7 separate regions of the Homo sapiens genome follow, and regions 1, 3, 4, 5, 6 and 7 are each linked to region 2. The links are contacts of gene promoters, found by promoter capture Hi-C in human tissues and cell types (Jung and others, 2019). All regions are on one chromosome and are shown on one strand. The core of a region is centred on a gene start or on the middle of the fragment in contact, and the rest is flanking DNA. Distances in the headings are between cores, read along the strand shown. Region 1 has its middle 58 kb from the start of LINC01907. Region 2 holds the start of SP100 (SP100 nuclear antigen). Region 3 has its middle 80 kb from the start of LINC01907. Region 4 overlaps SP110 (SP110 nuclear body protein). Region 5 has its middle 98 kb from the start of LINC01907. Region 6 overlaps SP110 (SP110 nuclear body protein). Region 7 has its middle 42 kb from the start of LINC01907.

Region 1 (2,700 bases), core at 131-2,630, 230 kb after region 2:
AGCCACCACACCCGGTGGTATTTTGTATATCTAAACATAGAAAATTACAGTAAAAATAGGCTATAAAAATAAAAATTGGGCCGGGCGTGGTGGCTCACCCCTGTAATCCCAGCACTTTGGGAGGCCAAGGTGGGCAGATCATGAGGTCAAGAGATCACGACCATCCTGGCCAACACAGTGACACCCTATCTCTACTAAAAACACAAAAATTAGCTGGGCGTGGTGGTGCATGCCTATAGTCCCAGCTACTCGGGAGACTGAGGCAGGAGAATCTCTTGAACCTGGGAGGCGGAGGTTGCAGTGAGCCGAGGTAGCGCCACTGCCCTACAGCATGGGCAACAGAGCGAGACTCCGTCTAAAAAAAAAAAAAAGAAAGAAACAAAAGAAAACAGATATACAAAATACCATTGTGCTACAATTGCCTGCAGTATTCAATACAGTAACATGCTGTCCAGGTTCATAGCGTGGGAGCAGTAGGCTACACCATGTAGCCTAGGTGTGCTAGGTACCAGCAGTAGGCTACACCATCTAGATTAGTGTAAATACAACCTATGATGTTCACACAATGATGAAATCTCATGATGCATTTCTCAGAACGTATCCGTTGTTAGGCGATGCATGACTGTACTTTGTTACGGCAGCCCCAGGAAACTAATGCAGTTGTCTACTCAGCATCCATTCCCCTCTTCCTAACAATACCCAAATTTTCGTTTGTACGTTTACCCCTTCTGCATACAGGAAACCATTGAGATGGCTTAGCCAATCAGCATTTTTTATTTTATCCTCCATAAGTCGTTGGTTTGGAGGTGGACACATCTTTAACTGGGCCGATCGGAGTGGCTCTCAGCACTCTCTCTTAGAATAGTGGGACAGAGGGCTCCTCGAGAAGGATGTGAGCCACTAGACATGAACCAGAAAGCATAAGGCTTGGATTACATCTGGCAACAGCCATCTTCAGATGCAGCCAACAGGGTGGGCAACAGAGCAGAGAGACTCAAAGGTCCTGGGTCATGGGAGATGTCTTAAAACCGCAAGATCAGTCTGCCCTGAAACATTGAATGTCTTACAGTCAAAGGCTTTATAGTTAAACCAGTTTAACTGAGATCTGGCATTCTTGCAGCCCAAAGCTTCCCAGCTGACAAGCTGGCAACACAGGGCAGATTGTACCATCTCAAGCCAAGTGAGGGGCTTTAAAAGAATCCACTGGAGGCTGGCTGCAGGGGCTCGTGCCTGTAATCCCAGCACTTTAGGAGGCTGAGGCGAGTGGATCACCTGAGGTCAGGAGTTCGAGACCAGCCTAACCAACATGATGCAACCCCATCTCTACTAAAAATACAAAATCAGCTGTGCATGGTGGCACACGCCTGTAATCCCAGCTACTTGGAAGGCTGAGGCAGGAGAATCACTTGAACCCGGGAGGTAGAGGTTGCAGTGAGCCAAGATCACGCCATTGCACTCCAGCCTGGGCTACAGAGCGAGACTCCATCTCAAAAAATAAAAATAAATTTAAAAATTAAAAAATAAGGAATCCCTTGGAGAGATAGACACGAAGGACTCGGGACTGAAGCCACACCCAAAGAATCTATAGCCTGGAGGCCATGGCTGGAACTCACCCTGCTTGGCAAATACAGGAAGAGACATGACGGTGGTGGAAAGGGCCTGCACTTCCAGAGCCTGGTGGGACAAGGATGGATGTGCATCTCCCAGAGGCCAGAGATGGGCTCGCTGAAAGGAGCTGGGCCAGGTCTCCTTGAGAGAGACTCTGCCCAGGAGAACTTGCTGCAAGTAAAGCAGGGGAATGAACCAGAAAGCAGGGACCCTGCATTGGTGATCAATTGGGCAGCAGGAGGTGTCATCCAGTTCCCTGGAGTTCCCACTTAAAATTACAACAGAGCAGGTCAACCAAAGCCCTTCCTGCCCCTCACCTCTCTTCCCCTGCCCACTCTAGTCCTGCAGAGACCAAAAGAACAGGTGGCGAAGGAGACCAGAGGTTGAGAGTCAGAAAAGCGATCAGACCACTCCCCACAGTTCCTGGACTAAGACAGGCCCCAGCTGAAGCAGGGTAGAGGGCGTTAGTAGGATAAAATATTGAATATTAGAAGAGATAAGACTTTTTTTAATTATTAAAAGGAGTCTGTTCTTATAACTAAAAGGTCCTGGAAAAACTGTGGGCCATCCCCAGATTTTAACCAGGTCTAGTGAGCACTGTTGTGCCCACATCCCGGGCATTCAACCTACGCAGGAAGGCCTTGTATTGCCAATACCCGAGCCTCTGCCCAACAGCTTTTATCTGGCCAGGGAGGGTGCTCAACGCTTGAGCAAGGCAAACAGGAAGTGCTGGAGTGGTCAAGTGCCTGGAAGTAGTCTTCAACCAAGGAGGGACAGGAAGTCATTGGGTAAGTACCACAGCTTCCTGCCCCTCAGTCGGGATAATGCTGTGACCTCTGGTCTGAAAACTCACTCTTTAATGGCCCATTCCCTTTCCTATCTTACTTCCTCACTATTTATACCCAGTTCACGTCTCAGGGTCTGTTTCCAGGGACACCCAAACCAAGACAGCAGAAATAGACAAGATGATGTCAAACAGCAGGTTTGAGTGGGCAGGAGGGCAGGGGACACGGGAGCGGGGGTGGGATGTTTCCTGTCACTTGTCTATCCAATAAACCAATCACTCAATTATTTTACTCATAATCAAGTTTC
Region 2 (2,805 bases), core at 201-2,700:
CAGCTTACCAGCCCTTCAGCCCCATAAAGTCGGGGAGTCATGGGGGGTAGGAAGAATGAGAGAAAGAGAGAGAGACCTACAGGTGAGAGAAAGAGAGAGAGACCTACAGGTGTGCAGTGCCTGATAGAAACAGTGACCTTCGCCCACCGGCAAAGCTGTCCTCACCAATGTCCTGGTGCCTGGTCATTCACTCATGGGGAAAAGAAGAGCAGAAGTAGAGTGAGGGTAGAAAGCCCCTTCCCCCACATTTTCAAATGTACCTGGACAAGCATCCTTATTCACAGCTGGAAGAAGTTGGATTCAGTAGAATGCCATTTGGAAAACACCGTTCTGAAGTGCCATCCCCTCTGGCCCCTGAATCCTCACCAGCTTCCACCCTCTGCTCACCTTGGGCCCTGGATTCCAGCGCCCCCAGGCTCCCAGCTGCCTCCCTGTCTCTGCCCCATGGTCCGGCCTGGAGTTCTGGTCCCTGGTTGTGTCCTGTGGCCCCATTCTCATGCGCCCTTTGCTTCTGTTTCTTTACCTATGACTTTATACTGATGTAAAGCGAGTCTTCTCGGTCGCTTCTTGTTCTCTGAGGAATGATGAATCAGAATCTAAATGGAAAATCTGGGCAGAGATAGAACCTCCCGCGGGAGCCACCCTGCCCTTCCATGTCTAGATCATCTGGGTTCCAACCTCCATCCTCCTCCAATGAGAAGCTTTTGTTCTCTCAAGATTCCAGTGACTTCTCCGAAGCTTAGGTGTCTCTTCACCCCTGGCTGTTCCAAGGCGGCCCCATAGTCAAGATTCCTTAAACCCTTGCCCCTTAAAATGTTTGCCTTTCTTACCATGCTGGCTCCAGCCTCTGGTCCCAGGGGTGTGGAGAGTTCTCTCTTACTTCTGGCTGATTTCCAGGAAGGCTAAGCACACTCTCCCCAGGTTATAATGCTGAGCATTTTGGTTCTCTCCAGCCCTGGGTCCCAATGTCAGGACCTACCTTAGTCCAGTCCATGCTCTCCCATGGGCCTGAGAGAAGATTTGAGGTTTCTGGCTTTCCCTCCAACCCTCCAACTCCCACCCCAAGCCATGTCAGCAAGGGGAAGGGGCAAACATGGAGTTTCCCCCCCAACTCCCATGTAAACTATGCCCCCTCTTAGAGGGCAGAGCAGCTAAGGACAATTTTGTTTCAAGGACATTTTTTTTGGCTGTGTATTGCACAAACAAGTGGACACCCGGGAGCTGGCCCTGCTCGTCCCCTGGGCCCTCCTTCCCTGGTCCTGCAGGTCTTGCTGCTTGTCAGGCCTCTCCTCCAACCCTCTGCCACATTTCAGAAAAGCTGAGAATCCCTTGGAGTGAAAAAGGAGGAGAAACACAGTGTCCGTAGCCCAGAAGGAGGTTAAATACTTTCACTTCTCTTTTCCCCATTTGGGCGGAGCCCTTTCTGAGTCAGTCTGTCGGCCGACTTCCTGCTTGGGGCCTGGGCAGCCACACTGCACGCAGGCTGGGCCGACTGAGGGGCTCAGAGGCCAGGCTCTGAGGCCCACGCAGGGCCTAGGGTGGGAAGATGGCAGGTGGGGGCGGCGACCTGAGCACCAGGTGAGTCTTTATCTCCCTTCCTTTAACCTTTATCTCTGGCTATATTGCAGCTTTCATGCCTTTAGTTCAGTTTGTGCCTAAGGCTTCACTTTAATCCTTCTTTGCAAGAACATAGGTATGCGATGTTATATAATGAAATGAAAGACAAGTAATGAGGAAATCAGATTTTTTAAACAGGAGCAGGACAGCTGTTGGTGTGAGTTCAACTTGCCATAACACACGTGACTTTCTTGTTTTGGATTTACTGCTCAGCTGACCGGGACACTCTAAACATAGCAGTTGTTGGTGGCTGGGATTAACTATTTCCTCATGATCTGTGAACCCTTTCACCCCTCAGCCTTCCTCTACCTTCAAATATGTCATGTCAAAAAAGGTGCTTTAGAAAATAAACACTCCAGGGTAAACACCTGGCTTACTTTTAAACATCAGACGCTGTGGTCTCACCTGTCCTGGCAAGGGGCCTCTGCCGGCTGTTCCCATGACTGGCTCAGGGTCTGAGTTCTTATTCCATCAACCTTGATCAAAAGAAGGAAAGGGAAGAAAAAGGCCCAGGGTGACAAACGGCTAAATATTTTCATTTTTACCTCAATTTCCTGTCCCAAGATGGGGGATACCTCTGACCAGAAAAGAGAAGGAAATCCTAACTTTTCTCTAGTAGTGAGTTGAGAAATAACATTACTTAATCTTTTAAATTTTTTAATACAAAAGAAATACACTGTACATTATTGTTCATAAAATTTAAAACAGTGGAGAAGTATATTAAGGAAAAAGTCATCTTTGCCACTCAGCCATTCTTGTAGCTTCTCTTCCCAGTCCTGTGAAGAGTCTTGGGCACAGCTTTTCTTATATTTTTCTATGCATTTATATATCTAATGCATTTTTTGTAAATACGTAATTTATGTTCTTGATTTATAATAAATTATATTACATGTGCTAGTCTGCATTTTGCATTTTTACTTATTTTAATAGTGGAAAACTTAGAGATCTTTTAACCTTAATACATATAGATCTGCCTCATTCTTTTTATACATGCTATTCCATAGAATTGATATATGATAATTATTTATTCTCCAATTGAAGGACATTTAGATTGTTTTTAAATTGTTCACATTTACCAATAAGCTATCATAACAATGATTATATATTTCTTTTTGGGTTTTTACATCTAAACAAATATTTATCTTGTCTCTAAACCTTAAAAATGTAATTATTGAGGCAAAGGGTCCA
Region 3 (2,700 bases), core at 67-2,566, 200 kb after region 2:
GGGGAGGGGAGAAGAGAAGAGAAGAGAAGAGAAGAGAAGAGAAGAGAAGAGAAGAGAAGAGAAGAGAAGAGAAGAGAAGAGAAGGTCACTTCCAAGATGGCCAAATAGCAACAGCTCCAGTCTGCAGCCCCTAGCGAGATCAATGCAGAAGACGGTTGATGTCTGCATTTCCAACTGAGGTACCTGGTTCATCTCACTGGGACTGGTTGGACAGTGGATACAGCCCATGGAGGGTGAGCTGATGCAGGGCAGGGTGTCGCCTCACCTGGGAAGTGCAAGGGGTTGGGGGATTTCTCCTTCCTAGCCAAGGGAAGCCATATGACAGACTGTACCTGGAGAAATGGTATACTTCTGACCAAATACTGCACTATGCCCACAGTCCTAGCAACTGGCAAACCAGCAGATACCCTCCCATGCCTGGCTCAGCGGGTCCCATGCCAACAGAGCCTTGCTCACTGCTAGCACAACAGTGTGAGATCAACCTGCGATGCTGTAGCTGGACGAGCGGAGGGGAGTCCGTCATTGCTGAGGCTTGACTAGCTCACAGTATAAACAAAGAGGCCTGGAAACATGAACCGGGCGGAGCCCACCTCAGCTCAGCAAGGCCTACTGCCTCTATAGATTCCACCTCCGGGGGCATGGCATAATAGAACAAAAGGCAGCAGACAGCTTCTGCAGGCTTAAATGTCCCTGTGTGACAGCTCTGAAGAAAGCAGTGGTTCTCACAGCATGGCATTTGAACACCAAGAACAGACAGACTACCTCCTCAGTTAGGTCCCTGACCCCCATGTAGCCTGACTGGGGAACACCTCCCAGTAGGGGCCAACAGACACCTCAAACAGGCGGGTGCCCCTCTGGGACAAAGCTTCCAGAGGAAGGATCAGGCAGCAATATTTGCTGTTCTGCAGCCTCTGCTGGTGATACCCAGGCAAACAGGGCCTGGAGTGGACCTCCAGCAAACTCCAACACACCTGCAGCTGAGGGGTCTGATTGTTAGAAGGAAAACTAACAAATGAAAAAAATAGCATCAACATCAACACAAAGGACATGCACACCAAAACCCCATCTGTAGGTCACCAACATCAAAGACCAAAGGTAGATAAAACCACAAAGATGGGGAGAAACCAGAGCAAAAAAGCTAAAAATTCCAAAAAACAGAGCGCCTCTTCTCCTCCAAAGGATCGCAGCTCCTCGCTAGCAAGGGAACAAAACTGGACAGGGAATGATTTTGAAGAGTTGACAGAAGTAGGCTTTAGAAGGTCAGTAATAACAAACTTCTCCAAGCTAAAGGAGCGTGTTCTAACCCATTGCAAGGAAGCTAAAAACCTTGAAAAAAGGTTAGATGAATGGCTAACTAGAATAAATACTAGAGAATACCTTAAATGACCTGATGGAGCTGAAAACCATGGCACGAGAACTTCGTGATGCATGCACAAGCTTCAATAGCTGATTCGATCAAATGGAAGAAAGGATATCAGTGATTGAAGATCAAATTAATGAAATAAAGCAAGAAGACAAGATTAGAGAAAAATGAGTGAAGACAAACGAATAAAGCCTCCAAGAAATATGAGACTATGTGAAAAGACCAAATATACATTTGATTACTGTACTGGAAAGTGACAGGGAGAAGGGAACCAAGTTAAAAAACACTCTTCAGGATATTATCCAGGAGAACTTCCCTAACCTAGCAAGGCAGGCCAACATTCAAATTCAGGAAATACAGAGAACACCACAAAGATACTCCTCCAGAAGAGCAACCCCGAGACACATAATTGTCAGATTCACCAAGGTTGAAATGAAGGAAAAAAAGTTAAGGGCAGCCAGAGAGAAAGGCTGGGTTACCCACAAAGGGAAGCCCATCAGACTAAGAGTGGATCTCTCGGCTGAAACCCTACAAGCCAAAAGACAGTGGGGGCCAATATTCAACATTCTTAAAAAAAAAAAAAAACAATTTTCAAACCAGAATCTCATATCCAGCCAAACTAAGCTTCATAAGCAAAGGAGAAATAAAATCCTTTACAGACAAGCAAATGCTGAGAGATTTTGTCACCACCAGGCCTGCCTTACAAGAGCTTCTGAAGAAAGCACTAAACATGGAAGGCAACAACCAGTACCAGCCACTGCAAAAACATGACAAATGGTAAAGACTATCGACGCTATGAAGAAACTGCATCAATTAACGGGCAAAATAACCAGCTAACATCATAATGACAGGATCAAATTCAAACATAACAATATTAGCCTTAAATGTAAATTGGGCTAAATGTCCCAATTAAGAGACACAGACTGGCAAAGTGGATAAAGAGTCAAGACCCATCGGTGTGCTGTATTCAGGAGACCCATCTCACATGCAGAGACACACATAGGCTCTAATAAAGGGATGGTGGAAGATCTACCAAGCAAATGGAAAGCAAAAAGAAAAGCAGGGTTTGCAATCCTAGTCTCTGATAAAACAGACTTTAACCATAACCAAAACAAAGATCAAAAGAGACAAAGAAGGCCACTACATAATGGTAAAGGGATCAATTCAACAAGAAGAGCTAAGTATCCTAACTATATATGCACCCAATACAGGAGCACCCAGATTCATAAAGTAAGTCCGTAGAGACCTACAAAGAGACTTAGACTCCCACACAATAATAATGGGAGACTTTAACACCCCACTGTCTATATTAGACAGATCAATGAAACAGAAAGTTA
Region 4 (2,739 bases), core at 129-2,628, 220 kb before region 2:
GGTCCAGTTTCAGTTTTCTGCATATGGATAGCCAGTTTTCCTGGCACCATTTATTAAATGGGGAATCCTTTTGCCATTGCTTGTTTTTGTCAGGTTTGTTGAAGAACAGATGGTTGTAGATGTGTCGTGTTATTTCTGAGGTCTCTGTTCTGCTCCATGGTCTATATGTCTGTTTTGGTACCAGTACCGTGCTGTTTTGGTTACTGTAGCCTTGTCGTATTGTTCAAAGTCAGGTAGTGGGATGCATCCCGTTTTATCCTTTTTGCTTAGGATTGTCCTAGCTATATGGGATCTTCTTCGATTCCATATGAAATTTAAAATAGTTTTTTTTTCTAATTCTGTGAAGAATGTAGAGACAATATACCAGAATCTCTGGGACACAGCTAAAGCAGTGTTAAGAGGAAAACTTGTAGCACTAAATGCCCACATCAGGAAGCTAGAAAGATCTCAAATGGACACCCTAACATCACAATTAAAAGAGCTAGAGAGGCAAGAGCAAGCTAATCCAAAAGCTAGCAGAAGACAAGAAATAAGTAAGATCAGAGAAAAATTGAAGGAGATAGAGACACAAAAAACCCTCAAAAAATCAATGAATCCAGGAGCTGGTTTTTTGAAAAAATTAACAAAATAGATCACTAGCCATATTAATAAAGAAGAGAGAGAAGAATCAAATAGACAGAATAAAAATGATAAGGGGGAATATCATCACTGATCCCACAGAAATACAAACTACCATCAGAGAATACTATAAACACCTCTACACAAATGAACTAGAAAATCTAGAAGAAATGGATAAATTCCTGGACACATACACCCTATCAAGACTAAACCAGGAAGAAGTTGAATCCCTGAATAGACCAATAACAAGCTCTGAAATTGAGGCAGTAATTAATAGCCTACCAACAACACAAAACCCAGGACCAGATGGATTCACAGCTGATTCTACCAGAAATACAAAGAGGAGCTGGTACCATTACTTCTGAAACTATTCCAAACAATTGAAAAGGAGGGAACTCCTCCTTAACTCATTTTATGAAGCCAGCATCATCCTGATACCAAAACTGGGAAGAGACACAACAAAAAAAAAGAAAATTTCAGGCCAATATCCCTGATGAACATCAATACGAAAATCCTCAATAAAATAATGGCAAGCCAAATCCAGCAGCACATCAAAAAACTTATTCACCATGATCAAGTCGGTTTCATCTCTGAGATGCAAGGTTGGTTCAACATACACAAATCAATAAGCATAATCCATCACATAAACAGAACCAAGACAAAAACCACATGATTATCTTGATAGATGCAGAAAAGGCCTTTGATAAAATTCTACATCCCTTCATGTTAAAAACTCTCAATAAACTAGGTATTGATGGAACATATCTCAAAATAATAAGAGCTATTTATGACAAACCCACAGCCAATATCATATAAAATGGGCAAAAGCTGGAAGCATTCCCTTTGAAAACCAGTACAAGACAAGGATGCCCTCTCTCACCATTCCTATTCAACATAGTATTAGAAGTTCTGGCCAGCACAATCAGGCAAGAGAAAGAAATAAAGCGTATTCAAATAGGAAGAGAGGAAGTCAAGTTGTTTCTGTTTGCAGATGACATGATTATATACTTAGAAAACCCCATCATCTCAGCCCAAAAACTTCTCGAACTGATAAGCAACTTCAACAAAGTCTCAGGATACAAAATCAATGTGCAAAAATCACAAGTATGCCTTTACACCAACAATAGGCAAGCAGAGAGCCAAATCATGATGAACTACCATTCACAATCACTACAAAGAGAATAAAATACCTAGGAATACAGCTAACAGAGGATGGGAAGGACCTCTTCAAGGAGAACTACAAACCACTCCTCAAGGAAATAAGAGAGGACACAAATGGAAAAACATTCCATCTTCATGGATAAGAAGAATCAATATCTTGGAAATGGCCATACTGCCCAAAGTAATTTATAGATTCAATGTTATTCCCATCAAACTATAATTTCAATTTATAAAAATTTATTGAGACTTGTTTTGTGGCTATCATATGGTCTATCTTGGAGAATGTTCCATGTGCTGATGAGAAGAATGTAATCTTCTGTAAATATCTATTAGGTCCATTTGTTCTAGAGTGTAGTTTACATCTATTGTTTCTTTTTTGACTTTCTGTCTCAATGATCTCTCTGGTGCTGACAGTGGAATACTGAAGTTCCCCACTATTATTGTGTTGTTGTCTTATCTCTTTTCTTAGGTCTAGTAGTAAATGTCTTATGAATCTGGGAGCTCCAGTGTTAGCTACATCTAAATTTAGGACTGTAATATCTTCCTGTTAGATTGATCCTTTTATCATTATATAATGACCTTCTTTGCCTTTTTTTACTGTTGTTGCTTTAAAGTCTGTTTTATCTGATATGAGAAAAGCTACTCCTGTTTACTTTTGGTTTCCATTTGCATGGAATATCTTTTTTCACCCTTATACCTTGAATTTATATGGGTCCTTGTGTGTTAAGTGAGTCTCTTGAAGATAGCAGATATTTGGTTTGTGATTTTGTATCCATTCTGCCAATCTGTATCTTTTAAGTGGAGCATTTAGGCCCATTTATGTTGAACATTAATATCAAGATGTGAGGTACTGTTTCAGTCATCATGTTAATTGTTACCTACATACGTTGTTTTCTTCATTGTGTTATTGTTTTATAGACCTTGTGAGTTTTATGCTTTCAAGAGTTTGTATTCTGGTGC
Region 5 (2,700 bases), core at 43-2,542, 190 kb after region 2:
AGGGGGAAGGAATGTGGTGTTATTTGTATAACGGGTAGAGAGTTTACATTGGGAATGACAAAAAAGTTTTGGAAATAGTGGTGACGTTTACACGAATGTATTGTGAATGTATTTAATACCACTGAATTGCACACTTACAAATGACTAAATGAGAAATTGATAATGCTAAATAGTCATATATATTAACAATGAAATGATAACTATTATGTATACTTTGCTACAATAAATAATAATAATAATGATAATGGGAGAGGACTCATGTTATTTGAATGTGGAGCTTCGTGTTAATTAGTCCAACTAAGCTATCACATGCTGCTCTCTGGAGCGTGGGGACAGACAATAGCGCTGAGCATAACTGGGGACAGAAAAATAAATTGGCGGGGGCAGGGAGGCTCAGCTTAGTTGAGAGTGGGATTTTGTAGAGAATGAATGTCATGACCAATATCAGAAGTTTCTCAGAGCCACAGTTGAGCTGCTTTTTCTGCTGGTTTCAGGTGACGGCAAAACAGTGGCACAGGTGTGGGCCTGAAGCCCGCATAATGGAGCTTTCCCCTCCTCCCTGGATTCAGCCACACCCAGGACGAATGAGGTTTGGCTGCAAAACTTAATAGTTTGGGGGGTTTGGGGGTTTTTGTTTTTTGTTTTTTGAGACCGAGTCTCACTCTGTGTCCCAGGCTGGAGTGCAGTGACATGATCTTGGCTCACTGCAACCTCCACCTCCCGGGTTCAAGCGATTCTCCTGCCTCCGCCTTCCCAGTAGCTGGGATTACAGGCCCCGCCACCATGTCCGGCTAATTTTTGTATTTTAGGAGAGATGGAGGTTTCACCATGTTGGCCAGGCTGGTCTCAAACTCCTGACCTCAAGTGATCCACCTGACTCGGCCTCCCAAAGTGCTGGGATTACAGGCGTGAGCCACCGCACCCGTCCAATTTAATGGTTTAAGAGAATATGAGGCCAGGCACAGTGGCTCACACCTGTAACCCCAGCACTTTGGGAGGCCAAGGCTAGTGGATCACTTGAGGTCAGGAGTTCAAGACCAGCCTGACCAACATGGTGAAACCCCATCTCTACTAAAAATACAAAAACTAGCCAGGCGTGGTGGTGCACACCTGTTATCCCAGCTACTTGGGCAACTGAAGCAGGAAAATCACTTGAACCCGGGAGGCGGAGGTTGCAGTGAGCCAAGATCATGCCACTGCACTCCAGCCTGGGTGACAAGAGCAAAACTCCGTCTCAAAAAAAAAAGAGAAAACAAAACAAAAGTGAGGAAATCAAGGGGAGGGAAATCACTGCCCCAGCTCAGGGTTCTTGCCCCGAGGAAGGAGCTGCACTGCCAGAGTCCCTTTCAGGCACCCTCCAGGAGGCCACCAACCCCCAGCTGCAGTGCCTGCATGACAAAAGTTCAAGTTCAAGGGCCTGGCTTCCCCTCTGTTCCCCGCCCCCACACCCCCACCCACCCCCAGCAACACAGACAGGAAGCAGGGCTCACTTCCTGCACCAGTGCACTTACAGGAAGTCAGCTGCTATCACAAGTGCAGCCACCTGAGAGCCCAGGCCCTTTCCCAGAACCCCACCCATACCTGGTGGGGCTGATGTCCAGCTAGGGTGCTACACTAAAGCCCTACACAGTACTGAAGCATTAACACGCTTTTAACCCAGTTAGGGAAAAGCCACTGCCCTGAGCCCGTTGAAAGAGCTCAGGAAATGCCACCCCAAAATATGCTGCTTTGGTGTGCCGATCACTTTGAGCTGAAGACACTTGAGAAAGACCAAAGGCAGAGAGACGTTTTCCCTGAACTCCCCCTGTCTGCCTAAAGACAGATCCCCAATCCCCTCCCAGGGAGTTTCGGGGAAATGAAAATCAAAACCACAGTGAGATACCATCTCACACCTGTTAGATGGCTAGCATCAAAAGGTGAAAAGGTAACAGGTCTTGGCAAGGATGTAGAGAAAACACATATATGTTGTTGGTAGGAATGTAAATTGGTGCTGCCATTCCGTAAAACAGTGTGAAGTTTCCTCAAAAAATTAAAAATAGGGATTAGGTGGGGGTGGCTGGCAAAATGGCCAAATAGGAACAGTTCCAGTCTGCAGCTCCCAGCAAGATCAACATGGAAGGCAGGTAATTTCTGCATTTCCAACTGAGGTACCTGGCTCATCTCATTGGGACTGGTTAGACAGTGGGTGCAGCCCACAGAGGGTGAGCCAAAGCAGGGTGGGGTGTCACTTCAACACCCAAGAGGTCAGGAAACTCCCTCCCCTAGCCAAGGGAAGACATGAGGGACTGTGCCATGAGAAACAGTGCACTCCAGCCCAGATACTACACTTTTCCCATGGTCTTTGCAACCTGCAGACCAGGAGATTCCCTCAGGTGCCTACACCACAAGGGCCCTGGGTTTCAAGCACAAAACTGAGCAGCCATTTGGGCAGACACCGAGCTAGCTGCAGGAGTTTGTCTTTCCATAACCCAGTGGCGCCTGGAATGCCAGTGAGACAGAACCATTCACTCCTCTGGAAAGGGGGCTGAAGCCAGGGAGCCAAGTGGTCTAGCTCAGCAGATCCCACCCCCATGGAGGCCAGCAAGCTAAGATTGACTGGCTTGAAATTCTTGCTGGCAGCACAGCCATCTGAAGTTGACCTGGGACACTTGAGCTTGGTGGGAGGAGGGGCGTCCACCATTACTAAGGCTTGAGTAGGTG
Region 6 (2,700 bases), core at 196-2,695, 200 kb before region 2:
ACCCCAGAGAGAAGGCGGGGGATTAACGTGCATATTCCACAGGGCTAGAAGTAAACCCAGACTTTTACCATAGCAACTTTTTAAATGCAAAAAGCACTTGAGAAATCTCATTACCACGTTTGAAGCTTCTGTAAATCGTCACCAGATTGGGATATTCACGCAGGTTAATTTGACTGAACAATGTCACCAGAAGAGACAGGTTAAAAGTCCTCTCCAGTTGGGTGAGAATGTTGTGCACCACTCTGGATACAGGGATCAAATTTCTACAGGCTTCCAGAGATTCCTATAAAAATGGAGTGAAGGTTTTTATAAATGACTATAAAATTGAATGGGAAGTTATACATTTATGGTTTTCTAAGTTTTAAGAAAGCTACCTTACTCTTTTAAGAAGAAATTCAACATAAAATATATAGTCACATTCTCTAAGGTAGAGCGGTCACAGTTTTACATGCTTATTTTTGAAACTTTACACATATTTGGATGACTAGCAACAAAAATAAATAATTTAGCTTTCTTAAAGTAAGTCTATATTCTGAATCCAACTTTCAGGCACATTTGAGACGAGAGAAATTTGAAGGAAGGAAAGTGGGGTTAAAGGATGCTACTATGTAATTGATTCTTTAAAGCTGTGGGCAGGATACTTCAGCAATGGTTCTAGTGATGGTCACAGAGGCAATTCTGCTGGTTGCTTGTGAGCCTCTGCTCAGTCTCTCTCTGTGTCTCTCAAACTTGAGATAAGCCTGAATGGATTCCAGCCACAGAGAAGTCACCCTGAGAATTTTCCTTGCCTAGAGGATGGACAAAAGGAGAAATACGGCAAGAGAGAACTGATTGCAAATAATTATTGAACATCTACTAGGCTCGGTCAGCGAGTCTTTGGGTACACAGCACTGAATAAGACCAACATGGAGTTGCCTATATTTGGGGGTCAGGGTAGGCACTGTCAAGTGGAGAAGATGAGCATTAATAAACACAAATAAATACCCATTTACAATTGAGAGTAGTGTTACGGAGGGAAAGCATAGATTGCTATGGAACTGAATAACTAAGGGGTCTTCATGAGATGAGTTGGCCAAGGAGATGTCTCTGAGGAGTGCTCTCTGGGCTGTGATCTGAAGAGGGAGTTGGGGCCAACCAGACTAAGACTAAGGGAAGATTATTGGCACTTCCTTGAGTCTAGGGCTCAATTAATGCTTTTAAAAACCAAAATTATATAAAAATAGGTCCACTTTTGTCCACATAGCATATCTCCCAGTGCCTGCCTGTCTCACATCAGAATGCACTGTGAGCAATATTAGCTGTTATAAATTGGGATGATGCCTGTAGTGAGTTGAATGTTGGATGGATATATCTCAGCCAAGATATATCCATCTAGAATCTGTGAATGTGAACTTATTTGGAAAAAGTGTCTTTGCAGTTGTAATTAAGTTAAGGATCTTGAGATAAAATCATCTTTGATTAGGGTGACCCTAAATCCAAGTGTCCTCAGAAGATTAGGTAGAAGACTCAAAAGAGAGGTGATGTAGAGATGAAAACATATCAGAGTGATGCATCTACAAGGCAAGGAACACTAAGGATTTCCAACAGCTACCAGAAGCTAGGAGATAGGCAGCTATCGGATTCTCCTCAGGGCCTCTAGAAGGAACCAACCCTGTCAACACCTTGATTTTGGACTTCTGGCCTCCACACCTGAGAGAATATATTTCTGTTGTTTTAAGCTACCTGGTTTGTAGTCATTGTTACAGCAGTCCTTATGACACCCTAGAAACCAACATAGCCCCTATGACACCCTCTCTCCTAACTACCCCCACCTTCTGTGATAATGAACATGCCTGGGCTGGGCCTTCCAAACTCTGGAAGCCCTGGTGGTTTGTGGTTTGAGACTTTAATAATCAGGCATATTGGTGGGGGCTGGGCTGCCATGGAAGGGTTCAACATGACTCACCATGTACATTCTCTTAGTGATGATGGAGTTGTCTAGGAGGCCTTCAAAGAAGGGAAATGGCTTGTGTATGGCATAGGCGATCCCCAGCTTCTGGTGCATGAAGTGCTGAAAAAGAGCCTCTTCCATGGCTCTTGTCATGGTGAACATCCTATGGAAAGAGGCATGATAAAAAATAGAAGCAAAGGCTGGGCGCGGTGGCTCATGCCTGTAATCCCGGCACTTTGGGAGGCCGAGGTGGGTGGATCACCTGAGGTCAAGAGATTGAGACCATCCTGGCCAACATGGTGAAACTCTGTCTCTACTAAAAATACAAAAATTAGCTGGGTGTGGTGGCGCACGCCTGTAGTCCCAGCTACTTGGGAGGCTGAGGCGGGAAAATTGCTTGAACCGGGGAGGTGGAGGTTGCAGTAAGCCAAGATTGTGCCACTGCACTCCAGCCTGGGTGACAGAGTGAGACTCCATCTCAAAAAAAAAAAAAAAAAAAATAGAAGCAAAACCTTGAGGAATGTGGGAAGCTTCTCTCTGCATTAAATGGGCAGATCTAAAGGTAAGCATTCTGGTCCCAAAGGCATCCTTAGTAGCCTGCAAAGCAATGTCTGCCTAAAAGGCTCATGGGTATAGGAAACAAGGACAATTCCCAGCAACAATGGAGGCTGAGAGTGACTGAAAATATAATGACAGAATCCCAAGGCGCTGCAGGTAAACATAAGGAAGGTATTAAAAGTAGCTAATATTTATGGAGTGTTTCCTGTGTG
Region 7 (2,700 bases), core at 161-2,660, 240 kb after region 2:
GGACACCCAGGACCCCCTCCTGGACAGCGAAGACATCTCTCCAAAGGCCTCAGCAGAGCCCCCGTGTTTTGGGGAGCCCGTCGTCCCCAACCCTCTCCTGGTACCACAGAACAGCACTTACTTCGCTAATTGTCTCCTGGTAGAAACGGCACAGCTAACGTGAAGGAACAAGGCATCCTAATCCACTGTGTGGTGTGGCAGAATCCATGACAAGCCACACAGGTGTAGGGCTGCCGCGCTGTCACACAGGGTCCCAGCGCTGAAGGACCGGGCGGTGAGGGGGCAGGGAAAGTCAGAAAGGGCACCCAGGGTACAGGGCACAGTGCTCAGTTTGCTGTGGCTGCCTGAGTAGTAATAATCACAGCTACAACTGCAGGTGCGCTCAGGTGCCAGGCCTGCGCACTGTCTCGGAGCATCTCACTTTATGCTCATAGCGAAGGAGGTACAAATTTCAACCCCTAATTACCATTAGCTGTCATCATTTTTATTGTGGCTCTGCCTGGCTAGCCCTTGCTCTCCTCACCCCAAGTCAGTGGCCCACTGAGTCCTCAGAGCCTGGCTCCACAGCCCCAGACCACCAGGATGGCCTCTCCTCCTGATGCTCCCATCTGAGTCTTCGCTGCTTTGAAAAATGCGGGTTTTTCTTCTGTGTTGAGTTGAAGACGGAGCTCTGCCTTTCTCTCCTGAGGTGCCCTGCACATGTCAGGGTCCCCGTGGGTGGCCGGAAGGAAAAGCTTCATGAAGGGAAGAAACCAGCCCTTCAGTGGTATGGGGCTCCCCTGGTCCCTGGAGGAACAGTAGCCTCTGTCTGAGTCCTAAACTGGGGCAACAGGCCGGGCACAATGTCTCAAGCTTGTAATCCTAGCACTTTGAGGCACCGAGGCAGGCCGATTGCCTGAGCTCAGGGGTTCGAGACCAGCCTGGGCAACATGGTGAAACCCCGTCTCTACTAAAATACAAAAAATTAGCCAGGTGTGGCAACATGCACCTATAGTCCCAGTTACTCGGGAGGCTGAGGCAGGAGAATTGCTTTAACCCAGGAGGCGGAGGTTGCAGTAAGCTGAGATCACACCACTGCACTCCAGCCTGGGCGACAGAGCGAGACTCTGTCTCAAAAACAATAAAAATAAGTAAATAAAATAAACAAATAAACTGGTGCAGCAGTCCCCTCAGTGGTCATGTGTCCACAGGTTTCCATCACAGCCCTGCAGTGACAGGATGGCTAGATGCCCTGCAGAAATCCTTTCCTGGACATACTCCCTCCTCCAGCCACCAGCCCCCCACTGGGTACAGTGCTCATCACAGCCTGGGGTGGAGGCATCAGCAATGCCCTCTTCAAGCTCTTCCCAAAGAAAGTGCCCCATCCGCCTGCCTCTGGCCCTGCCTGACCTGCACATGAGCCACCAGCTTCCTGCCAGGCCTCTGGTGATCCCTGGAACAGTCTCTAGAGCAGGAGCAGGAGCAGGAGCAGGCAGGGCCTGTATCTTCACTCTGCCTGAGCCCAGGCAGGCTCAGCTATGCCTTCAGGCCCCTCGACCACAATCATGGTGACCACATCCCTGGGATAGTCCCTGCTTTGATAACCTGCCTCACTAGTGCCTGCTAAGCACCGCTCCGCCCAGCCTGGTGTGTCCTCCACATCTTCAACCTCTGCAGTCTTCCCAGGGCTGCCCATGCCCTCCCTGGTTTCCAGTCTCTCCTCTACCACTCTCCTCCATCCCCTCAGTCATCCCCCGGTGCTCCCCTTCCAGACCCCACGGTTGCCCCTGTGCCACCTGACTGTCCAACTTTTCTCCAAGCACTCAAGATGGTCTCAGTGCTCCCCACCCCCACCTAGTGAGTCAATTTCAGTACCTGGGCCCTCTAATTCTGCCCTGCGGAGTCTCAAAGTATGTGCTGCCCACTCACCAGAGGAAACAGAAAGCACCTTCTCAGAATACAGCAGGCTTTAATTTCTAGAACTGTGGAGTCATTCAGAAAATGAGAAGAAGAGTGTTGGGTGTCTGATAAGTGAAGATAAGGGCTCAGAGGGATTGCAGGTCGTGGGGTGCGGAGGGGTGGAAGGGAAGACAGTTATGCTAATTTTTCTAAAGAAGAGCCTAGACATCAGCCCATACATAGGATCAGCTGTGGTTAGGAGGCAGCGCCTTACCAAAACCTGCAGGAACAGCCCCCTCCTCCGTCACTCTGTGCCAAGCCCAGCCCCTGTGGCTGCAGCTTGAGAAGCCCCTGATGTGCTCTCAGAGGCATTTCCCCTGGCGCAGTGGCTGGTGGGCACCTGGAACAGGAGCCCTGCAGCTTCCCCAGACTCAAGCAGGCAGTCACGGCCTTGTGCAGCCTCGACATGGCCTCTGGCTTCTCAACAAGGCCCCCAGTCCATCTGCCTCTGTGCCCGGCCTGCTGACACACCACTGCCCTCGTTCTATGCCAAGCACCTTCCAGTGTGCCACCCAGGGACCGGTGGCAGGAAGCAGGCTCCTAACAGACATGGATTGGGCTCCTGGGCACAATTACTCTACTTCTTTTTTTTTTGAGACGGAGTCTTGCTCCGTCACCAGGCTGGAGTGCAGTGGCGTGATCTCAGCTCACTGCAACCTCCGCTTCCCAGGTTCAAGCAATTCTCCTGCCTCAGCCACCCGAGTAGCTGCGATTACAGGCACGTGCCACTGTGCCCAGCTAATTTTTTTGTATTTTTAGCAG

The links. The method cuts DNA at HindIII sites, captures the fragments that hold promoters and counts their contacts. A contact is called where the count stands out against the background at its distance.
Region 1: a fragment that was not itself captured here is called in contact with the fragment with the promoter of SP100 in region 2 in 2 of the 25 tissues and cell types used here (IMR-90 fibroblasts and spleen).
Region 3: a fragment that was not itself captured here is called in contact with the fragment with the promoter of SP100 in region 2 in 1 of the 25 tissues and cell types used here (spleen).
Region 4: a contact is called between a fragment that was not itself captured here and the fragment with the promoter of SP100 in region 2, in 1 of the 25 tissues and cell types used here (spleen).
Region 5: a fragment that was not itself captured here is called in contact with the fragment with the promoter of SP100 in region 2 in 1 of the 25 tissues and cell types used here (spleen).
Region 6: a contact is called between a fragment that was not itself captured here and the fragment with the promoter of SP100 in region 2, in 3 of the 25 tissues and cell types used here (heart left ventricle, lymphoblastoid cells and spleen).
Region 7: a contact is called between a fragment that was not itself captured here and the fragment with the promoter of SP100 in region 2, in 1 of the 25 tissues and cell types used here (ovary).

What each region holds. Positions count from the first base shown.
Region 1 is chr2:230,641,331-230,644,030 of GRCh38, forward strand. No RefSeq gene overlaps it. Among named protein-coding and RNA genes, the nearest start is that of LINC01907, 58 kb to the right of the region's middle. The HindIII fragment of the contact is 3,162 bases long and covers 1-2,700 here.
Region 2 is chr2:230,414,751-230,417,555 of GRCh38, forward strand. It overlaps SP100 (SP100 nuclear antigen), which reads left to right and starts at 1,451. Exons shown (of 29, transcript NM_001080391.2): 1 at 1,451-1,578. The coding sequence starts at 1,547. RefSeq lists an enhancer at 1,098-1,617. The HindIII fragment of the contact is 8,532 bases long and covers 1-2,805 here.
Region 3 is chr2:230,619,174-230,621,873 of GRCh38, forward strand. No RefSeq gene overlaps it. Among named protein-coding and RNA genes, the nearest start is that of LINC01907, 80 kb to the right of the region's middle. The HindIII fragment of the contact is 3,569 bases long and covers 1-2,700 here.
Region 4 is chr2:230,190,750-230,193,488 of GRCh38, forward strand. The region is part of intron 10 of SP110 (SP110 nuclear body protein); the gene reads right to left. It also overlaps a transcript of SP140 not described here. Among named protein-coding and RNA genes, the nearest start is that of SP110, 28 kb to the right of the region's middle. The HindIII fragment of the contact is 5,786 bases long and covers 1-2,739 here.
Region 5 is chr2:230,601,293-230,603,992 of GRCh38, forward strand. No RefSeq gene overlaps it. Among named protein-coding and RNA genes, the nearest start is that of LINC01907, 98 kb to the right of the region's middle. RefSeq lists an enhancer at 1,148-1,277 and a silencer at 1,418-1,497. The HindIII fragment of the contact is 4,784 bases long and covers 1-2,700 here.
Region 6 is chr2:230,214,836-230,217,535 of GRCh38, forward strand. SP110 (SP110 nuclear body protein) reads right to left here. Exons shown (of 19, transcript NM_080424.4): 2 at 1,946-2,093; 3 at 115-283. The coding sequence starts at 2,092. It also overlaps a transcript of SP140 not described here. Among named protein-coding and RNA genes, the nearest start is that of SP110, 3.8 kb to the right of the region's middle. RefSeq lists an enhancer at 1,788-1,937. The HindIII fragment of the contact is 6,158 bases long and covers 1-2,700 here.
Region 7 is chr2:230,657,361-230,660,060 of GRCh38, forward strand. No RefSeq gene overlaps it. Among named protein-coding and RNA genes, the nearest start is that of LINC01907, 42 kb to the right of the region's middle. RefSeq lists a cis regulatory region at 1,264-2,392 and enhancers at 1,280-1,369, 1,430-1,479, 1,810-2,079. The HindIII fragment of the contact is 6,649 bases long and covers 1-2,700 here.